Regions from separate parts of the Homo sapiens genome. Here regions 2, 3 and 4 are each linked to region 1. Evidence: promoter capture Hi-C in 16 types of primary human blood cells and fetal thymus (Javierre and others, 2016). All regions are on one chromosome and are shown on one strand. Each heading gives the region's core, a stretch centred on a gene start or on the middle of the fragment in contact. The rest is flanking DNA. Distances are from core to core; before and after follow the strand shown.

Region 1 (2,700 bases), core at 53-2,552:
AATCAGGATCAGTGTGGAACAGTGAGACCTGCGCATGGCACTGCTAGGAGGGATGGGTTCCACCTGCCAGCCTTGGGGGTCCTGGCAGCCGACAGGACTTTGCCCACTGGGACTTGTCTGCCAACCTTTGGGTACAGAGCCTTAGCTTCACAGGCCCCAAGCCAGGAGCCCCTCCCCAGGTAGGCCAGCAGGGATGGAGGGAGGCCTGTCGAGGGTTTCTTGCACACTCAGATCCAAGTCTCAGAGTGGTGGTCCCTCTGCTGGCCTCTCACCTACCCGCTCCTGTTATCAGAAGTGTCGCAGGTGACAGTGTGGTCACTGGGGTGGGAGGAAATGGGAGGCCCTGGATGGGGCCCATGCCCAAGGGTCTGGCCATGGCCCCTTCATTAGGGCCCCAATTGTGACTTTATTGCTCATAGTCTCTTCCCTGCCTTGGTGGCTCTCATCCCCCAAACCTGAATGCAGAAGTCTTGGTCCTAGACTCAACTCCGTGCCACCCTTCAGCCTACGTTGTGGGTTCCTGCTAAGCTGAGCATTTACCTAACAATCAAGACTTCTGACAGTCCTCAGTCCTGCCCCCAAACCCCCTTGGATTTCTCTTTTTCAAGGTGGTTTCGGCTAGGAGAGTGAGCGTGGCTTGGGTGAGGGCAGATAGGGTGGGAGCATGGGGCATGTATGGATGAGACCTTGACAAAGGGACCCCGGAGGAAAGACAGGGGCCCTTTCCCCCTTTGTCCTGGAAACCCGGCTCAGCCCCAGCCCTTGCCCATTCTGCTGCTGCTGCCTGGTACCTTCCACAAGGCCAGACTCCTCTCCACAAAGCTGTGGTCTGCACCAGCTCCTCTGGCTCTCCTCCTCTGCCTGCTGAGGGCCGCCTCCTAGCCTGGCTGCCAATCACAGGAGAAAGGGGTTGGGATTTTGTTTGTGCCTCTGTCTGAGCAGAGAATGGCTGATAGGCCACTGAGCGTTGCCCTGGAGAGCCCCTCTGTCCCTGCTATCCCCATCTCCCCTGGCCCAGACTTCTGCCCTTCACGCCCATCCCTGACCAGCAGCCCCACTCAGTCTGGGCTCTGGGTGCCAGCTGGTTATAGACATGCCACCTGAACCCAGGCCAGGAGCTGGTGGATGCGTGGGGCTATTTTAAGCACAGCCTCTTGGCCTGCACACTCCCCTGGCCCCCAGCCCCCAGCAGCTCAGCTACTGGTCACCTGCCACCGCCTGGAATGCTGATTGGCAGTTGGCTGGGGTGGGTGGGGGCTGGGAAGACACTATTATAAAGCTGGGAGTGTTGGGAAGCAGCCGTCCCCGTCCAGAGTCCTCTGTGGTCCCTGCTGCCACCATGGCCACTCACCGCCTCGTGATGGTCCGGCACGGCGAGAGCACATGGAACCAGGAGAACCGTTTCTGTGGCTGGTTCGATGCAGAGCTGAGTGAAAAGGGGACCGAGGAGGCCAAGCGGGGAGCCAAGGCCATCAAGGATGCCAAGATGGAGTTTGACATCTGCTACACGTCAGTGCTGAAGCGGGCCATCCGCACCCTCTGGGCCATCCTGGACGGCACGGACCAGATGTGGCTGCCTGTGGTGCGCACTTGGCGCCTCAATGAGCGGCATTACGGGGGCCTCACAGGCCTCAACAAGGCAGAAACGGCCGCCAAGCACGGGGAGGAGCAGGTGAAGATCTGGAGGCGCTCCTTCGACATCCCGCCGCCCCCGATGGACGAGAAGCACCCCTACTACAACTCCATTAGCAAGGTGGGCTGCCTTTGCTGGGAAGGCCTCTGGGAAGCTGCAGAGTGGGGAGTCGGGTGGGGGCCCACTGGCTTGGGAGGGAAAGCAGCGTGCCTGTGTCCCCCAGGAGCGTCGGTACGCAGGCCTGAAGCCCGGGGAACTCCCCACCTGCGAGAGCCTCAAGGACACCATTGCCCGGGCCCTGCCCTTCTGGAACGAGGAGATTGTTCCCCAGATCAAGGCCGGCAAGCGAGTGCTCATTGCAGCCCACGGGAACAGCCTGCGGGGCATTGTCAAGCACCTGGAAGGTGAGGCCACCTTCAGGAGCCTGGGCAGGGTGGGTGGGCAGCAGCCCCAGCTGGCTTCTCATCTCAGCAAAGTCTCTCGCCCATGGACCAGGCTTTCTAGGCGTGGGGCTCCACATCATTCACTGAAAAAGGAGGGCTGAGAAGCCATTTTTTAGTTTTGTGAAATTTTCCCCATTTCTGTGTAACTGGGACACACTCCACAGGGGCTGACTGCACTCGAAGCTCGCTGTGTCCCGAGGTGGGGCAGGCTCCAAAGGTGGCATCTGCCAAGGGACACCCAGCTAGGAAACGGAAGGGCTGGGCTTAGAGCATCTGGCTCCAAATCCCAACTTACTGTGGGGCCCTGGACAAGCCACCTCCATCTCTGGGCCTCTCCCTTTTCCGGGGTGGTGGGGAGCTCCCCCTGGTACTGAATTCCTCTTGATGTAGGCTTGGACCCCTCGCAGGGCCCTCCCCCATCAGGTCCTCAGAATCCCTGCATGAGCTTCACCACCTATCTCCCTCTGGAGCCCCTCTCTGGGCAAAGGAAAGACCAATCAAAAGAGGGGTGCAGGACTATGGAGTGGCCAGACTCTGGGCTTGCAGCTGGGCTCCCACTGAAGAGCAAGGGCTGACAAATGGGCCCGGGATGCATGGGCGCAGTAAGGCCTCGCCCAGAGTGAC
Region 2 (2,743 bases), core at 166-2,665, 350 kb before region 1:
GAGAAGTTACTGAATCATCCAAGTTAACTTGGAAAATCCACAGTGTCATCTCCCTTGTTGTTATGCCTGGAACAGTGAGCACTCTGGATAAGTTTTTGAATGAATGAATAGCTGCATGAATGAAGTAGCAAAGCTGTGGTTTGAGTCAGGTGTGTCTGCTTCTAAACCTTATGCTTTTCCCTCTGTGCCACCCTCCTTACTCTATACATACAAGTGGTGCTGGCTTCTTAGAAGGAGAGACTGTCCTGGAACACGTCTCATGTGCATTTATAGGAAATGAACCTCTCTGTATGGTGGGGGCAACTTGGCTTGCACCTTGCATCCCACATGGTGACAGTAAGGTGACTAGGCTTAGTCCCATTCCTGCCTCGGCTGGGTAGGTGTGAAGTCCAGGCTGGCCTGGAGCTGAGTCCCTCTGGCCCTCCTGTCCTGTGCCTTCCGACTCCATGACCACTCCCTCTGCAGTCTCTCCTTCATTCTCCAGGGGCCACTTGAAATAGGTAGACATGTCCTAAACCTGCCCTGTGTGTAGGAGTTTGGGTGGGGTCCATGGCATCCCTAAGAAGACTGAGACTTTTGCAAGTGCCCTGTGCCTTTAAGGTACCACAGGCACAGATCAGTGAGTTGCTGGTGGCCTGGCTTCGGCAGCAAGTAGCTGTGTGCTCAATTTTCCCTTCTTCCCACCCCACATCCCCAGTATATCTCTTACCAGCAACTGGTGACCTCTAGAATCATAGACTTCAGTATAATTTTAAGATCAAAGTCAGACCAGATCACTAGGGATCATCCACACGGAATTCTATTTTCAAATGACTACTTCCTGTCTGTTTTTAATAGGCCAGGAGCAGGAGCTAATAGCTCTTCCCAAGTAGTTTATCCAGAATTTTGGGGTTTTAGTGGGTTAGGTGTTGATTTCCATTTCATTTTTTGTTAGTATTGCCGTGTATGTAGTTGAATAAATTAGGAAAAGCATCGATTGCCATGCTTCATTCACTTGGCTAAAAAAAATTTACAGTTTCCTGGTCCTTTATCTGTCTTCTGAACTGCTCTATGAACCCCTGGGGCTTTCTCTGAAAGGGTTTGTATTAGGCCCAAGCTAAAACTGGTTATTTTCTCTTTTTTTGACTCAAGAGACCCAGGTTAGCTAACAGCTTTCACCATACTTTGCACAGCTACCTGGGACAACTCCCCACTGGAAATGGTGTCTCAGATATGCTTGTTGACTATCTGGGATGTTGATGCCATGATTCTTCCCTGTGGTCGGCACCGTGTTATGAGGGTCCTGCCCTGATGTCTTGTCTGAAGTTCAGATTTACACCTCTCTCAAATGCACTTATCATGACCTCTAAGATGATGTGGCTCTACTATCACCAAGGATAACCCTGGATTTGGCTCATTCTACATTAGACGTTTTCTAAACGTGTGGGCTGTGCTTTGTCCCAGGAACTGGGCATGTGGGAGTCACCAAGACAGACAAGATTGCTGGTTTGGAGCTTATATCCCAGTGGGGTACAGCAGTAAAAGTCAGTAAATAAATGAGCAAGATGGAGGCAGGTGCCGTATAGAACCTAAAAGTGGGTGGTTTGTGTATTTAACCAGCACTCGTGTGGTGCCCTCTCTGTGTCTTGAAATAGTGAGTTGTCCCCCCCAGTCCTCCTATCATGCAGGCAGTCGCTGTGCACCCATGAGGGCTACTGAGAGCTGTGTGTGCATGGTCTCAGCCAATAAGAGCCAGGTCACAATCAAGGCTTGCTCTGGAGCTAGTGCTCTCTCTCACCTCAGAGAAGGGTCGAAGGTGAAGTTTGGTTATAAGTATCAGGATAGAAGGATGGAAGGAAGGGACTTCTTTTTTCAGTGGCTTATTTAATAGTGGCTTGCCTTATTTATTTATTAACACGGTATATCTATGTGACAATAGGCCTTTTGTGATGCTCGCTGACCTAATTTGTACTGGTGACCTGCCTTGGTGGCATGCTTCATCTCCTATGGGGTTGGAAAAACTTTTTTCTCCTTCAATAGTATTTTTTTTCCCCATGTCATTCTTACAACACTGCAGACCTCTTATTTTTTTTATTTTTTATTTTTTTTTGATTTGGAGTCTCGCTGTGTCACCCAGGCTAGAGTGCGGTGGCGCCATCTTGGCTCACTGCAACCTCCGACTTCCTAACTGCAGACCTCTTTTAAAAATTCTTGGCTTGGCATGGTGGCTCAAGCCTGTAATCCCAGCACTTTGGGAGGCTGAGGTGGGCAGATTGCTTGAGCCCAGGAATTTGAGACCAGCCTGGGCATCATGGTGAAAGCCCATCTCTACAAAACAGCACAAAAAAAATTTAGCTGGGGATGGTGGCACGCTGCTGTAGTCCTAGCTACTTGGGAGGCAGAGGTGGGAGGATTACCTGAGCCCAGGAGGTCAAGGCTTCTGCGAACTGTGATTGTGCCACTGCACTCCACCTTGGGCAACAGAGTAAGACCCTATCTCAAAAAATAAATAAAATAAAGTAAAAATAAAAATTCTTGGTCTCTTAATTGCTGAATGATTTTTTTTTTAGTCGTACCTCACTTAAAACTTTGGAAAAAGTTTATTTTGTATCTCTTGGATTTTGCTTGTCTAAGTGTTTTTCTTCAGAGCTGTACTTTCTTTCTGGCCTGGCCAGTTATTCCCTAAGTCTACCTGTCACGGTTGCCTGTCAGCAGTGTTTATTTTTGTTTTTTGTCTGTGGCACCTATGGGACATTGTCACGAT
Region 3 (2,723 bases), core at 134-2,633, 410 kb before region 1:
TCCTCAGCAAATATTTTGGTAAATATTTTTTGGGAATATTTTGATTTGGGCTATGGAACCCATGGATAGCGAGGGCTGACTATATCTGCTGCTTCTGTTTCTTTGGTGGAACCTTGACTTATACAGATATTTTCATGATATAATGTTAAGTGAGAAGGGGAGAATTCAAACTATATAGTCTAATATCAAATTTGAAAACTTTAAAAATTATGTATGTAGAAAAAAAGCTGGAAGAAAATAGTAGTAGTAATCACAGAGTGGTGGAATTGTGAGTGTTCTTCATTTTTATCTTTGTCCCTTACTATATTTTCTAATTTTTCTGTAATGACCATTTATTTTGTTTTATTAATTTTTTTGTATTCCTTTTATGATCTCTAAAAAATGAAAGGAGGGTATTGGTTTTGATTTCTGAGTAATAGACTAGAATAGCTACTTTGTTGTTTTGTAGAGACCCTATTTTAAAATTCTTGAACCAGTGAATTTTGTTCTGGGTTAGAATTAGAGTTAGTTTTGTGAGTTCTACCTTAAAAATAAGTATAGAGTGAAGACTTGGATATGTTTCAGGAAAGCTAACCTTTCTACTTGGTAGCTCTTTGTTCAGAATAGACTGGTACCGCAAGAATCCTAATCAAACCTTTCCAAGGACTGGAACATTCTCAGCTTCAGTTACTTGTTTTCCTTGAACAAAACAGGAAGTTGTGGCACCGATCTCTAGTTATACCTGAAATGTAGTGTTTTAGCAGATTTGAAAATAGAATGTGAAAGACCATCCTTTTCCTTGTTCTACCTTTAGCTGCACCCCAAGTCCTCCCACCAGTGTTCAGGATGGTTTATCCTATAAATTATAGATCTGCAGTTCTTTTAATTGAGTAATTTAAGGTAGTTATTCTGTAGAAGACCACACAGAAGCACCATCTTTTGTGAGCACTCTGTCTAAAATCTGAGAATCTAAGTCTTAGATTGCTGATATCTGATGACTCTTACTTGACATGTTTTTCGGTTCTAACCAGTATTAGGCAAAAACTCCCTTTTTGTATACTACAGTAAAGTCACATCACATGCTTATTTAATTTAAATAAATTCAGTGTAAGTGCTGGGAAAGAAAGAAACAAGATTAAAAATAATGTATTTATATTTTGTATATATGTATTTTGAATTTTATTTTTTTAGAGACAGGATCTTGCTGTGTTTTTCAGGCTGAACTCGAACTTCTGGGCTCAAGTACTCCTCCTGCCTCTATATATGCATTTTTGTTGTAAGGTGTTCATTACTGTATACAGACAATTGTTTTGTGTTTTAGTAAAGTATAATTTATGTAACAATACAATTCATTCCTTTTAGAATACAGTTTATGACTTTGGACAAATGTAGTCTTGTAACCACCACAGTCAAGATAGATGACCAGTATGGTTTGGCTGTGTCCCCACCCAAATCTCATCTTGAATTGCAGTTCCCATAATCCTCACATGTCATGGGAGGGACCCGGTGGGAGGCAGTGAATCATGGGGGCAGTTATATCCATGTGGTTCTCGTGATAGTGAGTTCTCATAGACGGTTTTATAAGGGACTTTTCCCGCTTTGCTTGGCACGTCTTCCTGCTGGTATGTGAAGAAGGATGTGTTTACTTCCCCTTCTGTCATGATTGTAAGTTTTCTGAGGCCTCCCCAGCCATGCTGAACTGCGAGTCAATTAAACCTCTTTTCTTTATAAATTACCCCATCTTGGGTATGTCCTTATAGCAGCATGAGAATGGACTAATACAATGACATTTCCATTGGTGCCAGACTCCCAGATCCTGGCAACCTTGTGCCTGTGTTCTGCCCTAAAGCTGTTGCAGCATACATTGTTATTTATACATAATAATGTACAGGTTTCATTTATAGTATTTTTGGGGTGATTTGGGGGAAATTTTATTTTGACCTAATTTTACCATCACTCTGATTTTAGCATCTCCCTGACTAATAACCTACAATTGGTCTGAATTTCATTCTTGTTTCTGCCCTACTGTTGCTGCCAGGGCATGTCAAATGAAGATCAGAAATGCCCCCACCCCAGGGCTTAAAGGAACCTATCTTTTTCTTTTTTTAGACGGAGTTTTGCTCTTGTTGCCCAGGCTGGAGTGCAATGGCATGATCTCGGCTTACTGCAACTTCCACCTCCCAGGTTCAAGCGATTCTCCTGCCTTAGCCTTGCAAGTAGCTGGGAGTGCAGGTGCCTGCCACCATGCCTGGCTAATTTTTGTATTTTTTTAGTAGAGACAGGGTTTCACCATGTTGGCCATACTGGTCTGAAACTCCTGACCTTGGGTGATCCACCCATCTCGGTCTCCCAAAGTGCTGGAATTACAGGCGTGAGCCACCGCGCCCGGCCCAAAGTAAATAACCCATCTTATTCCTCAGAGAAGAGAGAGAATTTGCACACAGATATTTCCCTATTTGCACAAGATAGCATCAGAGAATGTGCTTATATTCTGTAAGGATGCTTTACAATTTTAATAGTTGTTCAGGCTGGGTGTGGTGGCTCATGCCTGTAATCTCAGCACTGTTAGAGGCCGAGGCCGGCTGATCATTTGAAGTCAGGAGTTTGAGACAAGCCTCACCAACATGGTGAAACTCTGTCTCTATAAAAATACAAAAAATTAACCAGGTGTGGTGGTGCGTGCCTGTAATCTCAGCTACACAGGAGGCTGAGGCAGCAGAATTGCATGAACCCGGGAGGTGGAG
Region 4 (2,700 bases), core at 128-2,627, 500 kb before region 1:
GTGTGTCATGGAGAAGGGAAAATGGAAACATCCACTCCCGGGAGGTTCTGAGAAATGCACAGAAGCAGCTGCCTCATGCCTTTTGAAACACATGAGTGTGTTATCCTTTGAAAAGCTAGGTCTGTGAAGTCACAGAAGAAAGATGCTCACTCTGTGGCTCTCCCTCTTCCCCCGGCAGACATACTTTGAAGACAACCCTAGGGACCTCCAGCTGCTGCGGCATGACCTACCTTTGCACCCCGCAGTGGTGAAGCCCCACCTGGGCCATGTTCCTGACTACCTGGGTGAGTGTGGCCTGACAGGGCAGGAGGCAGCAGGCTGGGGAAGTGGCATTAATTTCTCCACTGCTGGGTCAGCCCCTGTGCTTGGTGCTGGGGATGCTCAGGCAGAATAGAACCTGGAGACCCTGGCAGCACGCGGGCATGTAAACAGGCACACCCCTGTGTTTCTAAACTTGTTTGCTTGGTCCCACGGGTTAGCTGTTGCTGTCTCCATTTTAGAGATGAGGAAATTGAGGTAGTGCAGGGTGGGTGGCAGACCCAGCATTTCAGGCCAGGTCGTCTCCAGAGCTGGGCCAAATGGCCATCCATGGGTCGAAGGGAGTGAACAGGTTTGGGAGAGAGTCACGGGCAGGAGGCAGAGAGAGCCACCTGTGCTGCAAAAGACTCAAGATTAGCAGCTGCTGAAGAGGCATCTGTGGAGTCTCTGGGTAAGAACAGTCAGCAGGGAGACAGACTCTGTAAGGCCTAAACCGACAAGGTAGCAAGAGAAGAGCCAGTGGTGGTGCGAGGGATGCAGGGGTTGGCAGGCATGAGGTCAGGACCCTGGGATTGGTTTCTGTAGTGCAGCCCAGGCTAGAGCTTTATGTGGCCATTAATACTGGGCACCTCTCCTCATCTTTGGCAGGCTCTGGGTAATGACTTCTTTCAGTGTCTCATAGGAGGTGTTTTTGGTAATGAGTATGTGTGACTTTTATGCCTAAAATGGATTGAAGGAGGAGAGTGGTGGAGAGGAGGCTGTGGGCAGCAAGTGCAGGACCCTTCCCAATGCCACAGGGTCTGCTCAGCCTGGACCTGCAGCCACCCAGCGGGTGTGGTGTTGCTGCTATGGAGGTGACAAAGGGTGGAGATGGAATGTTCCAGGGCAGGAAAAGCCTGGGCACTGGGAAAGGAAGGATCCAGAAGAGATGGGAACATGAAAATGCCAGAGAGAGCGGTGGGGGCCGGGTTCCCATGGGACAGTGAGCTGGAGGAGACCCCAGTCCAGGTCCTGGCCTGAGATGTGAGGAGGGGAGTTGGGAGGGTGGGTAGGGAGGGAGAAGGTAAGGCTAGAACTTTGGCCTCAGGAACCCAGTCTGCTCGTATAGCGGAGTCATTTGCCAAGGTGTGGCCAGGAGGTTTAGAAGGGCCAGGAGAAGGTGGAAAGGTGTCAGGATGTGGGATGTTTGACATTTGAAGGGGAGGGCCCAGGTGTGGTTGGCCTGGGGGAGTCCATGGGGTGGGCGAGGTGAAGATAGAGCCAAGATCAGGTGCAGCTGGGATGCGGGGCCCCCTGTATCGGTAGTAATGGGCCACAGGTGAAGAAACTACCTGTTGACTTTTATTTCAGCTGCATTTTCTTTCTTTAAGGATGTCTGTCTTTTTCTTTCTTGTTACATGTTTGTTGTAACAAATCTAAACAATATAGGAGAGTGATTTAAATAGTGGAAGTCTAAGGTGCTCACATTCTCCTGGCCCTGTGCAGATGTGGTAGTGAATAGATGTATGTCATAGGCTGCCAGTTGGGTCAGAATTGGAGAATTTGCTGCAGAATCAGCGGGAGGGCAGGGATGGGAGCAGTAGCGGTGAGCCCACTGCTCAGGCAAGCATCTCTTCCAGTTCCTCCTGCTCTCCGTGGCCTGGTGCGCCCTCACAAGAAGCGGAAGAAGCTGTCTTCCTCTTGTAGGAAGGCCAAGGTACGGCTCCTGGGGACTGCGGACAGCCCCAGGACTCCTCCCAACCTGCTCTTTTGTCATCACCAGAATGTGGAGGCGCCTTGCCCTAGGGAGGGGAAGAGAGGGTGCCCTAGGGAGGGGAAGAGGGGGCACCCTAGAACCGGGCCCCAAAAATCTGGTGTGGGATAGGGGTACTTTTGCAGCCGCCTGCAGGCCCTGCTTTTCTTTCCCCAGCTGCCTTTCCCCATTTCCTTATCTGCAGCACCTTCTGGTCGTGTTGGCCAGTTGCCGGCACGGCTCCCTTTGTGTCTTTCTCAGTTGGGTGGGTGGGTGGGTGGATTGTCTGTCGGCCTGATTCCCCCAACTAACCTGTGACTTTGCCTCCTTAGAGAGCAAAGTCCCAGAACCCACTGCGCAGCTTCAAGCACAAAGGAAAGAAATTCAGACCCACAGCCAAGCCCTCCTGAGGTTGTTGGGCCTCTCTGGAGCTGAGCACATTGTGGAGCACAGGCTTACACCCTTCGTGGACAGGCGAGGCTCTGGTGCTTACTGCACAGCCTGAACAGACAGTTCTGGGGCCGGCAGTGCTGGGCCCTTTAGCTCCTTGGCACTTCCAAGCTGGCATCTTGCCCCTTGACAACAGAATAAAAATTTTAGCTGCCCCAGTTTGTGCCTCCAGCATATGAAAAGGACTATTTGAATCCCCAAAACATCAGGAGTCGGGAAACTTCGGAAGACAGCTGTGCCTGGCTCTGTGGCTGCATGCA

What was found. The method cuts DNA at HindIII sites, captures the fragments that hold promoters and counts their contacts. A CHiCAGO score of 5 or more calls a contact.
Region 2: a fragment that was not itself captured here is called in contact with the fragment with the promoter of PGAM2 in region 1 in 1 of 17 cell types (M1 macrophages); the score reaches 6.6 in M1 macrophages.
Region 3: a contact is called between a fragment that was not itself captured here and the fragment with the promoter of PGAM2 in region 1, in 7 of 17 cell types (M2 macrophages, total B cells, M0 macrophages and 4 more). The highest score is 7.9, in M2 macrophages.
Region 4: a fragment that was not itself captured here is called in contact with the fragment with the promoter of PGAM2 in region 1 in 4 of 17 cell types (endothelial precursors, M1 macrophages, M0 macrophages and 1 more); the score reaches 10.4 in endothelial precursors.

Annotation. Positions count from the first base shown.
Region 1 is chr7:44,064,169-44,066,868 of GRCh38, reverse strand. PGAM2 (phosphoglycerate mutase 2) reads left to right here and starts at 1,302. Exons shown (of 3, transcript NM_000290.4): 1 at 1,302-1,753; 2 at 1,857-2,037. The coding sequence starts at 1,340. DBNL (drebrin like) reads right to left here. Exons shown (of 13, transcript NM_001014436.3): 13 at 1-2,700. RefSeq lists a silencer at 286-355 and enhancers at 1,536-1,605, 1,666-1,715, 1,906-1,965, 2,610-2,700. The HindIII fragment of the contact is 4,752 bases long and covers 1-2,700 here.
Region 2 is chr7:44,415,838-44,418,580 of GRCh38, reverse strand. The region is part of intron 3 of NUDCD3 (NudC domain containing 3); the gene reads left to right. Among named protein-coding and RNA genes, the nearest start is that of NUDCD3, 73 kb to the left of the region's middle. The HindIII fragment of the contact is 3,443 bases long and covers 1-2,743 here.
Region 3 is chr7:44,477,916-44,480,638 of GRCh38, reverse strand. The region is part of intron 2 of NUDCD3 (NudC domain containing 3); the gene reads left to right. Among named protein-coding and RNA genes, the nearest start is that of NUDCD3, 11 kb to the left of the region's middle. The HindIII fragment of the contact is 6,664 bases long and covers 1-2,723 here.
Region 4 is chr7:44,565,702-44,568,401 of GRCh38, reverse strand. DDX56 (DEAD-box helicase 56) reads left to right here. Exons shown (of 14, transcript NM_019082.4): 12 at 179-284; 13 at 1,878-1,954; 14 at 2,323-2,598. The coding sequence ends at 2,400. Among named protein-coding and RNA genes, the nearest start is that of DDX56, 6.9 kb to the left of the region's middle. RefSeq lists an enhancer at 2,239-2,700 and a silencer at 2,592-2,700. The HindIII fragment of the contact is 3,764 bases long and covers 1-2,700 here.